3 separate regions of the Homo sapiens genome follow, and all the other regions are linked to region 2. The links are contacts of gene promoters, found by promoter capture Hi-C in human tissues and cell types (Jung and others, 2019). All regions are on one chromosome and are shown on one strand. The core of a region is centred on a gene start or on the middle of the fragment in contact, and the rest is flanking DNA. Distances in the headings are between cores, read along the strand shown.

Region 1 (4,012 bases), core at 1,173-3,672, 410 kb after region 2:
CTCATTTTTCTTGCACAAACCATTCCCATAAGGCAGGCATTTATTTTTAAGCAAACATTTATTGCATGCCAGATGGTGTTCATACATTATCTCATTTAACTCCCTCAACAGCCATGTGACTCAGGCATTCATATTAGTAATAATAGTTCATGTTTGCCTAGCACTCACAACTTGCCAAGCACTGGGCTGACAGCTTTACATGCGCCATCTCATCTAGTCTTCACAACCACCCTCAAAAGAACCATTATTTCATGGCTTGCACCTGTAATTTCCAGCACTTTGGGAGGCCGAGGTGGAAGGAACACTTGAACCCATGAGTTCAAGACCTGCCTGGGCAACAGAGCAAGAGCCCATCTCCACAAAAAGAAAACAAACAAACAAACAAAAAAACATTATTTCCCCTACATACCAGATGAGAAAGTTGAGGCACAGACAGGTTGAGATCCTAAAGCCAGTGAGTAGTAGAGAGGAGATTTCAGACATCCATGGGTTAACTCCAGAGTTGCTGCTCTTTTTGTAGGTTTTTTTTTTTTTTTAATTTATTTATTTTTGAGACAGAGTCTCACTCTGTCATCCGGGCTGCAGTGCAGTGACACAATCTTGGCTCACTGCAACATCTGCCTCCTGGGTTCAAGTGATTCTCGTGCTGCAGCCTCCTGAGTAGCTGGGATTACAGGCACATGCCGCCGTGCCCAGTTAATTTTGCTATTTTTAGTAGAGACAGGGTTTTGCCATGTTGCCCAGGCTGGTGGTCTCAAACTCCTGGCCTCAAGCAGTCCTCCCGCCTCAGCCTCCCAAAGTGCTGGGATTACAGGTGTGAGCCACCACTCCTGGCCCAAGTTGCTGCTCTTAACTGTGAAGTTCTCCTGCCTCCCACAGTTTATTATTATCCCCGTTTCCCCGGTAGGGAAACTGAGGCCTCAGAAATGAAGCCCCTTGCTCAGGATCAGCAACTGTGATGCAACAGAGGCTCAGAGCCCTGCCGCTGGGTAATGGCAGCAGCTTCCCCAGCTGGTGGTGCAGGTTGGCAGATCTATTGAGTCCCAGGGGCCCTGGCTGGAGGAGGTGTGCAGCCTCGCCTTCAGAGCCTGTTTTCCTTAACCAAGTGCCTCCCACTGCCCCCTGCCTGGGGGGGTCTGCGGAACCATCCTCAGCTACATTGTGCAGGACCTGATGGAGACTGACCTGTACAAGTTGCTGAAAAGCCAGCAGCTGAGCAATGACCATATCTGCTACTTCCTCTACCAGATCCTGCGGGGCCTCAAGTACATCCACTCCGCCAACGTGCTCCACCGAGATCTAAAGCCCTCCAACCTGCTCATCAACACCACCTGCGACCTTAAGGTCAGAGGGTTGGGCACCTGTCCCCTCCTCCCCCAGGGTCTGGGGCTTCCAGTGACCAGTAGAAGAAGCCTTGGGCAGGAGAACATTGCAAGCAAAGGGAACAGTGGAGGCAAAGACAAGGGGGCGTGACTGCTTAGGCTGCAGAGGCCTTGAGCGCCGAGCTTAGCAGCTAGGTCTGATTCCAGATTTGTGATTTCGGCCTGGCCCGGATTGCCGATCCTGAGCATGACCACACCGGCTTCCTGACGGAGTATGTGGCTACGCGCTGGTACCGGGCCCCAGAGATCATGCTGAACTCCAAGGTAGGAGGGGCTGCCCACTCCTGAAAGGAACGGACCAGTTCCCAGGAAGCCCTGGAGCTACCTCTGAGCCAGACACTGACCCCCATGACACAGGAATTCTACCCTCTGGGCCTTGGGCTCTGCAAGGAAGCTGAGCATTGAGCCCTCCAGGCCTCTGCCTTCTGCCTGGTGTTGGATCTAACTTGGAGGTGGTGGCCTGGCGCAGACAACAGGACCCTGTTGAGGCTGGCCCAGGAGCTCACCACTTCCTCCTCTCCCCCAGGGCTATACCAAGTCCATCGACATCTGGTCTGTGGGCTGCATTCTGGCTGAGATGCTCTCTAACCGGCCCATCTTCCCTGGCAAGCACTACCTGGATCAGCTCAACCACATTCTGGGTGAGGGAGGCCCGGCTGGCTGAGTTGGGGATGATTAGCTTTTCCGAGGTGAGATTTCTCGAGAGTCCAAGTCAGGGATACCACCACGTGTGGGGTGCCTCCAGCATCTCATGGTATCTCAATGAGGTATAGATATTATCCCCATTGGATAGATGGGAAAAGCAAGGCTAAGTCCCACACCTGAGGAGGCACCAGACCTAGGATTTGAGCCTCGGTCTGCCTGAACCCAGCCCCCTTGCTCTGCACCACCATGCTAATGACTAGGAGGTGACTGAGGGATTGGCATGGGTTGCTGGGCTGGGGGGTCTTGTTCTTGCCTTGTTGCCTATTCTGTTCCCAGAAAGAAAGAGGTGATCATTTACCAAGTCACCTCCTTATCCACAGGCATCCTGGGCTCCCCATCCCAGGAGGACCTGAATTGTATCATCAACATGAAGGCCCGAAACTACCTACAGTCTCTGCCCTCCAAGACCAAGGTGGCTTGGGCCAAGCTTTTCCCCAAGTCAGACTCCAAAGGTTCGAGAGACATGAGGGTGGGTGTGGGATAAACCTTGGGTGTCGTGGAGGGTGTGTGAGCCCAGCAGCCGCTGGAGGAGACAGGCAAAGCAATGCTTCTCGGAGCTCCTCCAGTCTTCCCTGTGACCCCTGACTCCTGCCCTTCCATAGCCCTTGACCTGCTGGACCGGATGTTAACCTTTAACCCCAATAAACGGATCACAGTGGAGGAAGCGCTGGCTCACCCCTACCTGGAGCAGTACTATGACCCGACGGATGAGGTGGGCCAGTCCCCAGCAGCAGTGGGGCTGGGGGCAGGGGAGCAGGGGGGCACGTAGGCATCCCCCATGCCAGGCCTGAGCCTTGCTGTCTCTACCACCCCAGCCAGTGGCCGAGGAGCCCTTCACCTTCGCCATGGAGCTGGATGACCTACCTAAGGAGCGGCTGAAGGAGCTCATCTTCCAGGAGACAGCACGCTTCCAGCCCGGAGTGCTGGAGGCCCCCTAGCCCAGACAGACATCTCTGCACCCTGGGGCCTGGTGAGTGTCTCCATGGCCCACACATGGACACCCTGATACTAAATATCTATATCTGTATATCTATATCTATATCTATCTGTACATGCCTCCATACAGCAGCAAGCTTACCCCACACCCATGGTCAATGTGTCTGGTGACAACAGAAGTGCCCAGGGGGCTGGGTGTGGTGGCTCATGCCTGGAATCCCAGCACTTTGGGAGACTGAGACTGAGAGGAGTGGATCACCTGAGGGTCAGGAGTTTGAGACCAGCCTGGCCTGCATGGTGAAATCCCATCTATACTAAAAATACAAAAATTAGCCGGGCACAGTGGGTCACTCTGGTAATCCCAGCACTTTGGGAGGCTGAGGCAAGTGGATCACCTGAGGTCAGGAGTCCGAGACCAGCCTGCCTGGCCAACGTGGTGAAACCCTGTCTCTACTAAAAATACAAAAATTAGCCGGGCACGTAGGCATGCGCTTCTAGTCCCAGCTACTCAGGAGGCTGTGGTGGGAGGACTGCTTGAACCTGGGAGGCGGAGGTTGCACCACTGTACTCCAGCCTGGGCAACAGTGAGACTCTCTCAAAAAAAAAAAAAAAAGGGCTGGGCACAGTGGCTCATGCCTGTAATCCCAGCACTTTGGGAGGCCGAGGTGGGTGGATCACAAGGTCAAGAGTTGAGACCAGCCTGGCCAACATGGTGAAACCCGGTCTCTACTGTAAAGAATACAAAAATGAGCTGGGTGTGGTGGCACATGCCTATAATCCCAGCTACTCAGGAGGCTGAGGCAGGAGAATTGCTTGAACCCAGGAGGCAGAGGTTGCAGTGAGCCGAGATCGCACCACTGCACTCCAGCCTGGACTACAGAGCAAGACTCCATCTCAAAAAAAAAAAAAAAAATGCCCAAGGCTGCCCAGACTGGTGGCCCACCGAGTCCTCCAGCCCCAAATGTCTCTGCCTGTCAACACCTTGCATC
Region 2 (4,171 bases), core at 290-2,789:
CTCACACAGGGGCATCGGGCTCGTTAACTGTCAAGAACGCTGCCAAACTTGTTTCAGCACGAAGCGTAGAAAAAAAAGACAAGAACTGGATGATATTAAGTTGTCTGTCCAGGCTCACTTCCTCAATTCAAAGCTGCGCCCGAGGCAGTGTTTCTCAGGTTCCCTTCCTCTGCAAGACTCCATTCGAGTCAGACAAGACTGGAGAGTTGTTAGATGCCTCGAAGGCCAGATGGTTCTCTCAGTCCAATTCTCCTTTGTATCACCCTCACCTGGAAGGAATCCTGCCTCCCTGTGAGGAAATCTAACAACAGGGACTAAGGCTGCCAGGGATTGAGTTAAACTCAGGCGCTGGGGAAGGTGGAGGGGAGAGGCAAGGGGTGTGAGGCTGACGAGGAGGAAGGGTGTCTGTCCTCAGATCTTCTGGCTTTCATAAAACATAATGGAGGCTAAGTGGGGGCGGGAAAAGTTTTGATGGCACAGGCCGGGCTGGAGGGGAGATGCCTGGCACCTCCCTCCCACTACCTCCTGAAGGCGCTTCTGGCCGACAGGGGAGGCGGACCCGACCACAGCACTCCCGGCCAATCAGGAAGGCGCCTGGCGTTCCCTGGCGACCATTAACGCCCAGCCGTCCGCGGGGTTGGAGGAGGCGGGGCGGCTAGAGCACGAGCCCCATCGGCCAACCGCCGGGCTTCCTGGGGCGGAGAAGCTGTGCCTCTGGGAGCCGGGGCGGGGCTGTCTCCTTGGCAACTATCCTAGCCCTCGAGGAGGGAGGAGGGAGGAGGAGGATCAGGGGAGCCGAGCTGGGTGGGGGCCGGAGGAACGGGAGCGGGCGCGCGCAGGTGCCGGGGAGCGGAGTTCCTGGAGGGGGTCCCAGGCTCAAGGACCTCGGCGAGGCCAAGGGGAGTCCGTCCCGGTTCCCGAGGCGCTGCCGGAGCTGACCCGGAGGCCCGGGAGGGGAGGGAGCGAGACACCGCCCCCGCTGGCGCCGGGAAGCGTCGCTCCTTCTCGCTGACCTTGGTCTCGCTTGTCGCCTCGCCCTTGGCCACACGCACCGACGACGCGGGGCCCGGGAGATGGACAGACGGGCCTCTGGAGGGACGGAGACCTAGAACATAGGCACACACACTGCCCCGGTAGCCCCGCGGGCTCCGGGGCGTCCGGTCCTCACCCACCCCGTGGCCGGGCCCCTCCAGCCCAGGGTTAATGCCAACGAGTTTCCACCTCCAGCGGCTCCTAGAGAGGCCGCGGCGCGAGCCGGCGGGGGGACCTGGCCGCGGACGGACACTTCCTGTGCGGGGGAGGGTGGGGGGGTGCTGGGCGGCCGTTGGACAGTGCAGCCCAGCCCGGGGCCGGGGTCCAGAAGGTGGGGGCTCGGGCGGGAGCGGGGGCCGGGGGCCGCCGGGGTAGTCGCGAAGCCCCTCATCCCCGAGGCCGCGACGCGCGGGGGCCAGTGAGGGCCACGGGGAGGCCGAGACCTTGGGAGGGGGCGGGGCCGCGGGCAGGGGAGGGGCCCGGCGCGCTGGAGAGGCGCGGGGTCAAGACGTCCGGCCTCGGGGGCCCGGGCTGGGCCGCCGAGTCCCCTGGGCGGCGCTGAGCGGGCGGGAGGCGGGGGCCCGCGGCTCGGGGCAACCGAGGCCGGGTCGCGGGATCGGCCGCCATCGCCGCCGCCGCTGCACTGGGAGCCCGCGGGGATGGAGCGGGAGGCGTTGCCGTGGGGCCTCGAGCCCCAGGATGTGCAGAGTTCTGACGAAATGAGGAGCCCCGAAGGGTACCTCAGAGGTGAGGAGGGAGCGCCCGTCCGAGGAGTGGACTTGCGCGCAGGAGAAGGGGCTGTGGCTCCAGGGAGGGAGCGAGGGCCCGGGGCTGGGACACCTGGGACTCGAAGGAGGGGCCGGCGGGGACTGGGGTGTCTTGGGTCAGCTGAGGGGGGCGTGGGAATTTCAGCACTTGTCTAGGGGCCAGCGACCCTGCATGTGAGGTGGGAGGTGTGTGGTTGCTAATGGACCAAATGACCTTCCAGGTCTCACACGATCTGGATTCTCTCATCCTGCAGGCAACATGAGTGAGAATGAGGAAGAGGAAATTTCTCAGCAAGAAGGCAGTGGGGACTATGAAGTCGAAGAGATACCATTTGGGCTTGAACCCCAGAGCCCTGGGTTTGAGCCACAAAGCCCAGAGTTTGAACCCCAAAGCCCCAGATTTGAGCCTGAAAGCCCGGGGTTTGAGTCCCGAAGCCCTGGGCTTGTGCCCCCAAGCCCTGAGTTTGCACCCAGAAGCCCTGAATCAGATTCTCAGAGCCCTGAGTTTGAATCCCAGAGCCCTAGGTATGAACCCCAAAGCCCTGGCTATGAACCTCGGAGCCCCGGGTATGAACCCCGGAGCCCTGGCTATGAATCTGAGAGCTCTAGATATGAATCCCAGAACACTGAGCTCAAAACCCAAAGCCCAGAATTTGAAGCTCAAAGTTCCAAATTCCAGGAAGGTGCGGAGATGCTTCTGAACCCCGAGGAAAAGAGTCCTTTGAATATCTCCGTAGGAGTTCACCCCCTGGACTCCTTCACTCAGGGGTTTGGGGAGCAGCCCACAGGGGACCTGCCCATAGGGCCACCTTTTGAGATGCCCACAGGGGCCCTGCTGTCTACACCGCAGTTTGAGATGCTTCAGAATCCCCTGGGTCTCACAGGAGCCCTTCGAGGTCCAGGTCGGCGGGGTGGCCGGGCCAGGGGTGGGCAGGGCCCTCGGCCTAACATCTGTGGCATCTGCGGGAAGAGCTTCGGGCGGGGCTCCACCCTGATCCAGCACCAGCGCATCCACACCGGTGAGAAGCCCTACAAATGTGAGGTCTGCAGCAAGGCCTTCTCCCAGAGCTCTGACCTCATCAAACACCAGCGCACCCACACTGGCGAGCGGCCCTACAAATGTCCCCGTTGCGGCAAGGCCTTCGCCGACAGCTCTTACCTGCTTCGCCACCAGCGCACTCACTCTGGCCAGAAGCCCTACAAGTGCCCACATTGTGGCAAGGCCTTCGGCGACAGCTCCTACCTCCTGCGACACCAGCGCACCCACAGCCACGAGCGGCCCTACAGCTGCACCGAGTGCGGCAAGTGCTATAGCCAGAACTCGTCCCTGCGCAGCCATCAGAGGGTGCACACCGGTCAGAGGCCCTTCAGCTGTGGCATCTGCGGCAAGAGCTTCTCCCAGCGGTCGGCCCTTATCCCCCATGCCCGCAGCCACGCCCGGGAGAAGCCCTTCAAGTGCCCTGAGTGCGGCAAGCGCTTTGGCCAGAGCTCGGTGCTGGCCATCCACGCCCGCACCCACCTGCCAGGCCGCACCTACAGCTGCCCCGACTGCGGCAAGACCTTCAATCGCTCCTCCACTCTCATCCAGCACCAGCGCTCCCACACGGGCGAGCGGCCCTACAGGTGCGCCGTGTGCGGCAAGGGCTTCTGCCGCTCCTCCACGCTTCTGCAGCATCACCGGGTCCACAGTGGCGAGCGGCCTTACAAGTGCGATGACTGCGGAAAGGCCTTCTCCCAGAGCTCCGACCTCATCCGCCACCAGCGGACCCACGCGGCGGGCCGGCGCTGACCTGGGGCCCCAGCAGGGGTGGGAGGTGTGGGCAGAAGATAAGGGGCCAGGGAGCTAGAGGAACCTTTAGGGAGGATAGTGGAGAAGCCGCAGGAGAATGGAGGAGCTGAGGATGCTGGAAGAAGAGAACCAGGGTGGAGGAAGTGACATGCCCTGGAGACTTGTGGGAAGTGGGTTGGAGGGAGGCCAGGCCGGCAGCGGGAGGCCCTGGGAGAAATGGAGAGAGGTCAGCGGAGGGCTGGCCTCAGCCGCGGCTCCTTGGTGGGTGCCTGGCTTGGCAACTGCTAGAGCAGGGAGGGGGGAGGGCAGGGGATTACCTAATTAGAGTGGGTTAGCTTAGATTGGTAGCTGCTGAAACTCTCGTTGAGTCAGGAGCGGGTAAAAGGTAGGTGGGGTGGGGAGTGGGGCCCCGGGGTGGGGCCTGGGCCTCTGCGTGCAAACCCCAGCCTCCCTCTTCTTCCTCAGGCTTTGGAGCCCCTGAGTTTGAGTTCAATAAAAACTTTATGTGGTAAACGAGACTTGTCCTTAAAATGTGTGCGTGCACAGCGCCCTGGGAAGTGGGAGACACCAGTAGTAGCCTAGG
Region 3 (3,952 bases), core at 494-2,993, 420 kb before region 2:
ATTACAAAAAAATTAGCCAGGCGTGGTGGCACACGCCTGTAGGCCCAGCTACTCAGGAGGCTGAGGTGGGGAGGATCACTTGAACCCAGGAGGCATAAGTTGCAGTAAGCCGAGATCTTGCCACTGCACTCCAGTCTGGGTGACAGAGCCAGATGGTCTCAAAAAACAAAAACAAACAAAAGGATTATCTTATTTCAGGGGACTGCAAATCTCCTTTTGAAAATCTTTCCTCAAACTAGACCTCTCCCATCCTGATTGCTCATTCAAGTTATTCATTCAACAGCTATCTATGGAGCAGCCACTGAGAACGTGCTGGGGGACCAGCCAGCGCTTGCCCTCAGGGAGCTGGAGACCCTGGCAGGAGGGCACAGATGTGCATCAAGGCACTCCACAATTGCCCAGTATTATGCTGGCGGGCTGCTCTCAAAGCTGAGAGGGACTCTGAGCTCAATGTGGGGTGGGATCAGGGAGAGCTTCTTGGAGGAAGTGGCATTTATACCCAGGCCTAAAGGATGATGAGATTTAAGTAGATGAAGAGAGATGGCCTCTGCTCCCAGCATCCCCCTCTGCCAATATGGGCCTCCTGCCCCACCAAACTGCTGAGTCTCACACTCCCTGGGAAAACCCTGTTCCTTTCAAGACTCAGTTCAAAGTACACAGCAGGTGGGTGAATGAATGAATAATGCCCAACCAGGGCCTTCCTATTCAAACTCATGTATTCTTTCCTTTCTTCAAATACTTTACCATCCAGCATGAGTCAGAAGAGACCTGAGAGGCCTCCTACCCTACCCTTGCCCAGCCCATTCTCCAGAAAAGCAAACAGAGGTTGCACCTGGTTTGGTGTCTGGTGGAGGCAGCAGCAACTCCCGGAGCTGGGAGTCTTTAACATCCTCGATCCAGCGGAGGTCCAGGAGCCGCAGGGCTGGCAGTGGGGCTGAGCCCAGGGCAGAGACAGAGAGCCAGGAGCAGCCAGAGAGCACCAGCTCCTGCAGGCCTGCGGAGAGGGGGCAGTCAGGAAGCAGGTGCTGTGAGGACTCCATCCCAGGCCTGTCCCTGTCCCCACCCTGTCCTCCGTACCACACACCCTACCTTGTAGTCGGTTCAGAAGCCACATGAGCTGCTTCTTGGAGACACCTGTCCAGCTGAGGTCCAGGGCACGGGGCTGGCGGCGAACCACACCACTGAGCATGGGCGGGGTCAGTGACTTCCGCCGGCTCAGGTCCATTCGAGGCCACAGACGCTTGTCATAGCACCTGGCGGCCATAGGGGGGAGACAGAGACCTCAGCCCTCAGCTCTCAGCAGCCCACAGTTCCCAGGCTCCCCAGCTCCAAGGGTGCACCCCAGCTCTCTTCTGGCCACACAGACAACAGGGTAGCAAGAAGCACCTGACCTCAGCCAAGAGCACTGGGATTGGAACCCAACTCCATCACTAACTGGAAATGAGACCCTGGGCAAGTCTGTTCCTCTCCCTGAGCCTCAGAAGCCTCGTTTATGATTGAAGGCAATAGCCCCCCCACTCTGCCTGCCCACAGGGCAGCTGTCAGGTCACATGGGCTCATCCCAGCTGTGGGCCTCCCAGCATAGAAAGTGTGCTGCCCAACACATACACAAATGCCACGCATGCTGCCTGATGTCATGCCAAGGGGACTGGTGTTATCCAGTCGTCTCCAGCCACCCTTGGGCTTCTTGATTCCTGACTGAGTTCTGGTGCTCATGGGTCCTTGCCTCCTTTACTCATCTCTGCTTCTGATCCACACCTGTCCCATCTTGACAGCCAGCTGCCCGCAGCTGGACTTACAGCCCTAATATCTTCCCTATTACATTACTGTGTTCCTCCAACTACAATGTAAATTCCACAAGGGCAGATTTGCGTTTTCCACTTTTTGAAAAAAAATTTTTTTTGAGACAGGGTCTCACTCTGTAACCCAGGCTGGACTCAGGCTCACCGCAGCCTCAACCTACTGGGCTCAAGCAATCCTCCCACCTCAGCCTCCTGAGTAGCTGGGACCACAGGCACATGTCACCACGCCTGGCTAATTTTTAAACAATTTTTTTGTAGAGACAGGGTCTCACTATGTTGCCTAGGCTGGTCTTGATCTCCTGGCCTCAAGCGATCCTCCTGCCTTGGCCTCCCAAAACACTGGGATTACAGGCATGAGCTACTGCACCCAGCTGCCCATTTGTAATGAATGAATCAAGCTAGTAACTACTTAAAGCTTCCACTGACCACTCTCCCCCACCTCCTCATCTACAGCATTTCATTTATTCACTCTGATTATAGAAAGCGTTATAGGTCCCAAGTATTGAAGCTACAAAGATGAACGAGTCCTAAGCAACATTAAACAGGTTTCCTAACCCGAGCACTCCACAGGCCTCAACAGACTATCTAACATGCAGTGGGCTGGGTGCAGTGGCTCACACCTGTAATCCCAGCACTTTGGGAGGCCGAGGTGGGTGGATCATGAGGTCAGGAATTCGAGAACAGCCTGGCTGTTCTACTAGTGAAACCCTGTCTCTACTAAAAGTACAAAAAATTAGCTGGGCATGGTGGCGGGCGCCTGTAATCCTAGCTACTCGGGAGGCTGAGGCAGGAGAATTACTTGAACCCGGGAGGCGGAGATTGCAGCGAGCCGAGATCGCACCACTGCACACCAGCTGGGGCAACAGTGAGAGACTCCATCTCAAAAACAAACAAACAAACAAACAAACAAAAAACATGCAGTGAACTGGAGAAGGGCCTCTCAAACGTACTTCCCCAGGAATCCTTCCCCACCTCTCCCAAGGTAATCTAGTAACATTTTGTAGTACACTGAAGTTCCTTTGGACTCAGTTTGAGAACTCTCTTCTCTGAGTTCAGTAGTTCTCAAAGGCATGTCCAGAAATGCCTCTGAGACTCAATAGACTGTGTCAGAAGCAGCAGGCCCAGGAAGCTTTTTTTTTTTTTTCTTGAGACAGTGTCTTGCTTAGTCACCCAGGCTGGGGTGCAGTACTGCGATCACAGCTCACTGCAACCTTAAACTCCTGGGCTCAAGCCATCCTCCTACCTCAGCCTCCTGAGTAGCTGGGACTACAGGCACATGCCACCACACCTGACTTTTTTTTTTTTTTTGAGACAGAGTTTCGCTCTTGTTGCCCAGGCTGGAGTGCAATGGTGTGATCTTGGCTCACTGAAACCACCATCTCCCAAGTTCAAGCGATTCTCCCGCCTCAGCCTCCAGAGTAGCTGGGATTACAGGCATGCGCCACCACGCCCGGCTAATTTTTTGTATTTTTAGTAGAGATAGGGTTTCTCCATGTTGGCCAGGCTGGTCTCGAAATCCTGACCTCAGGTGATCTGCCCACTTTGGCCTCCCATAGTGCTGGGATTACAGGCGTGAGCCACTGTGCCTGGCCTATTTTTTTATTTTTAGTAGAGACAAGGTTGTCCAGGCTGGTTTTGAACTCCTGAGCTCAAGCGATCCTTCCCTTGGCCTCCCAAGGGAAGCTTTCTCTTGCCTCCCTCCCTGCCCTCATGACTCTGAAAGGCTTTTCCTTGTAGAAGCCCTGGGCTGGGGCAGTGATTCCCAAGCTCCAGTATTTGCTGTTCACTTATCTGCGTAACATGATTTATCTTTGAATCATCTCCTCTTTGCACTTAAAACCAGTATTGTTGCCGGGCGCGGTGGCTCATGCGTGTAATCCCAGCACTTTGGGAGGCCGAGGTGGGTGGATCACTAGGTCAGGAGATCAAGACCATCCAGGCTAACACAGTGAAACCCCGTCTCTACTAAAAAAAAAATACAAAAAATTAGCTGGGCGTGGTGGAGGGCGCCTGTAGTCCCAGATACTCGGGAGGCTGAGGCAGGAGAATGGCGTGAATCTGGGAGGTGGAGCTTGCAGTGAGCCGAGATCGTGCCACTGCACTCCAGCCTGGGCGACAGAGCGAGACTCCGTCTCAAAAAAAAAACAAAA

Evidence for each region. The method cuts DNA at HindIII sites, captures the fragments that hold promoters and counts their contacts. A contact is called where the count stands out against the background at its distance.
Region 1: a fragment that was not itself captured here is called in contact with the fragment with the promoter of ZNF768 in region 2 in 1 of the 25 tissues and cell types used here (dorsolateral prefrontal cortex).
Region 3: a contact is called between a fragment that was not itself captured here and the fragment with the promoter of ZNF768 in region 2, in 1 of the 25 tissues and cell types used here (pancreas).

Annotation. Positions count from the first base shown.
Region 1 is chr16:30,115,681-30,119,692 of GRCh38, reverse strand. It overlaps MAPK3 (mitogen-activated protein kinase 3), which reads left to right. Exons shown (of 9, transcript NM_002746.3): 3 at 1,155-1,344; 4 at 1,530-1,646; 5 at 1,909-2,023; 6 at 2,408-2,539; 7 at 2,690-2,799; 8 at 2,903-3,057. The coding sequence ends at 3,025. Among named protein-coding and RNA genes, the nearest start is that of GDPD3, 4.2 kb to the right of the region's middle. The HindIII fragment of the contact is 2,432 bases long and covers 1,207-3,638 here.
Region 2 is chr16:30,523,934-30,528,104 of GRCh38, reverse strand. It overlaps ZNF768 (zinc finger protein 768), which reads left to right and starts at 1,539. Exons shown (of 2, transcript NM_024671.4): 1 at 1,539-1,779; 2 at 2,054-4,101. The coding sequence starts at 1,692. The coding sequence ends at 3,588. RefSeq lists enhancers at 154-453, 2,034-2,093 and silencers at 524-1,353, 1,444-1,763, 1,784-1,833. The HindIII fragment of the contact is 23,531 bases long and covers 1-4,171 here.
Region 3 is chr16:30,939,417-30,943,368 of GRCh38, reverse strand. FBXL19 (F-box and leucine rich repeat protein 19) reads right to left here. Exons shown (of 11, transcript NM_001382779.1): 8 at 1,090-1,253; 9 at 833-994. Among named protein-coding and RNA genes, the nearest start is that of ORAI3, 7.7 kb to the left of the region's middle. RefSeq lists an enhancer at 1-805 and a silencer at 1,230-1,359. The HindIII fragment of the contact is 5,049 bases long and covers 1-3,952 here.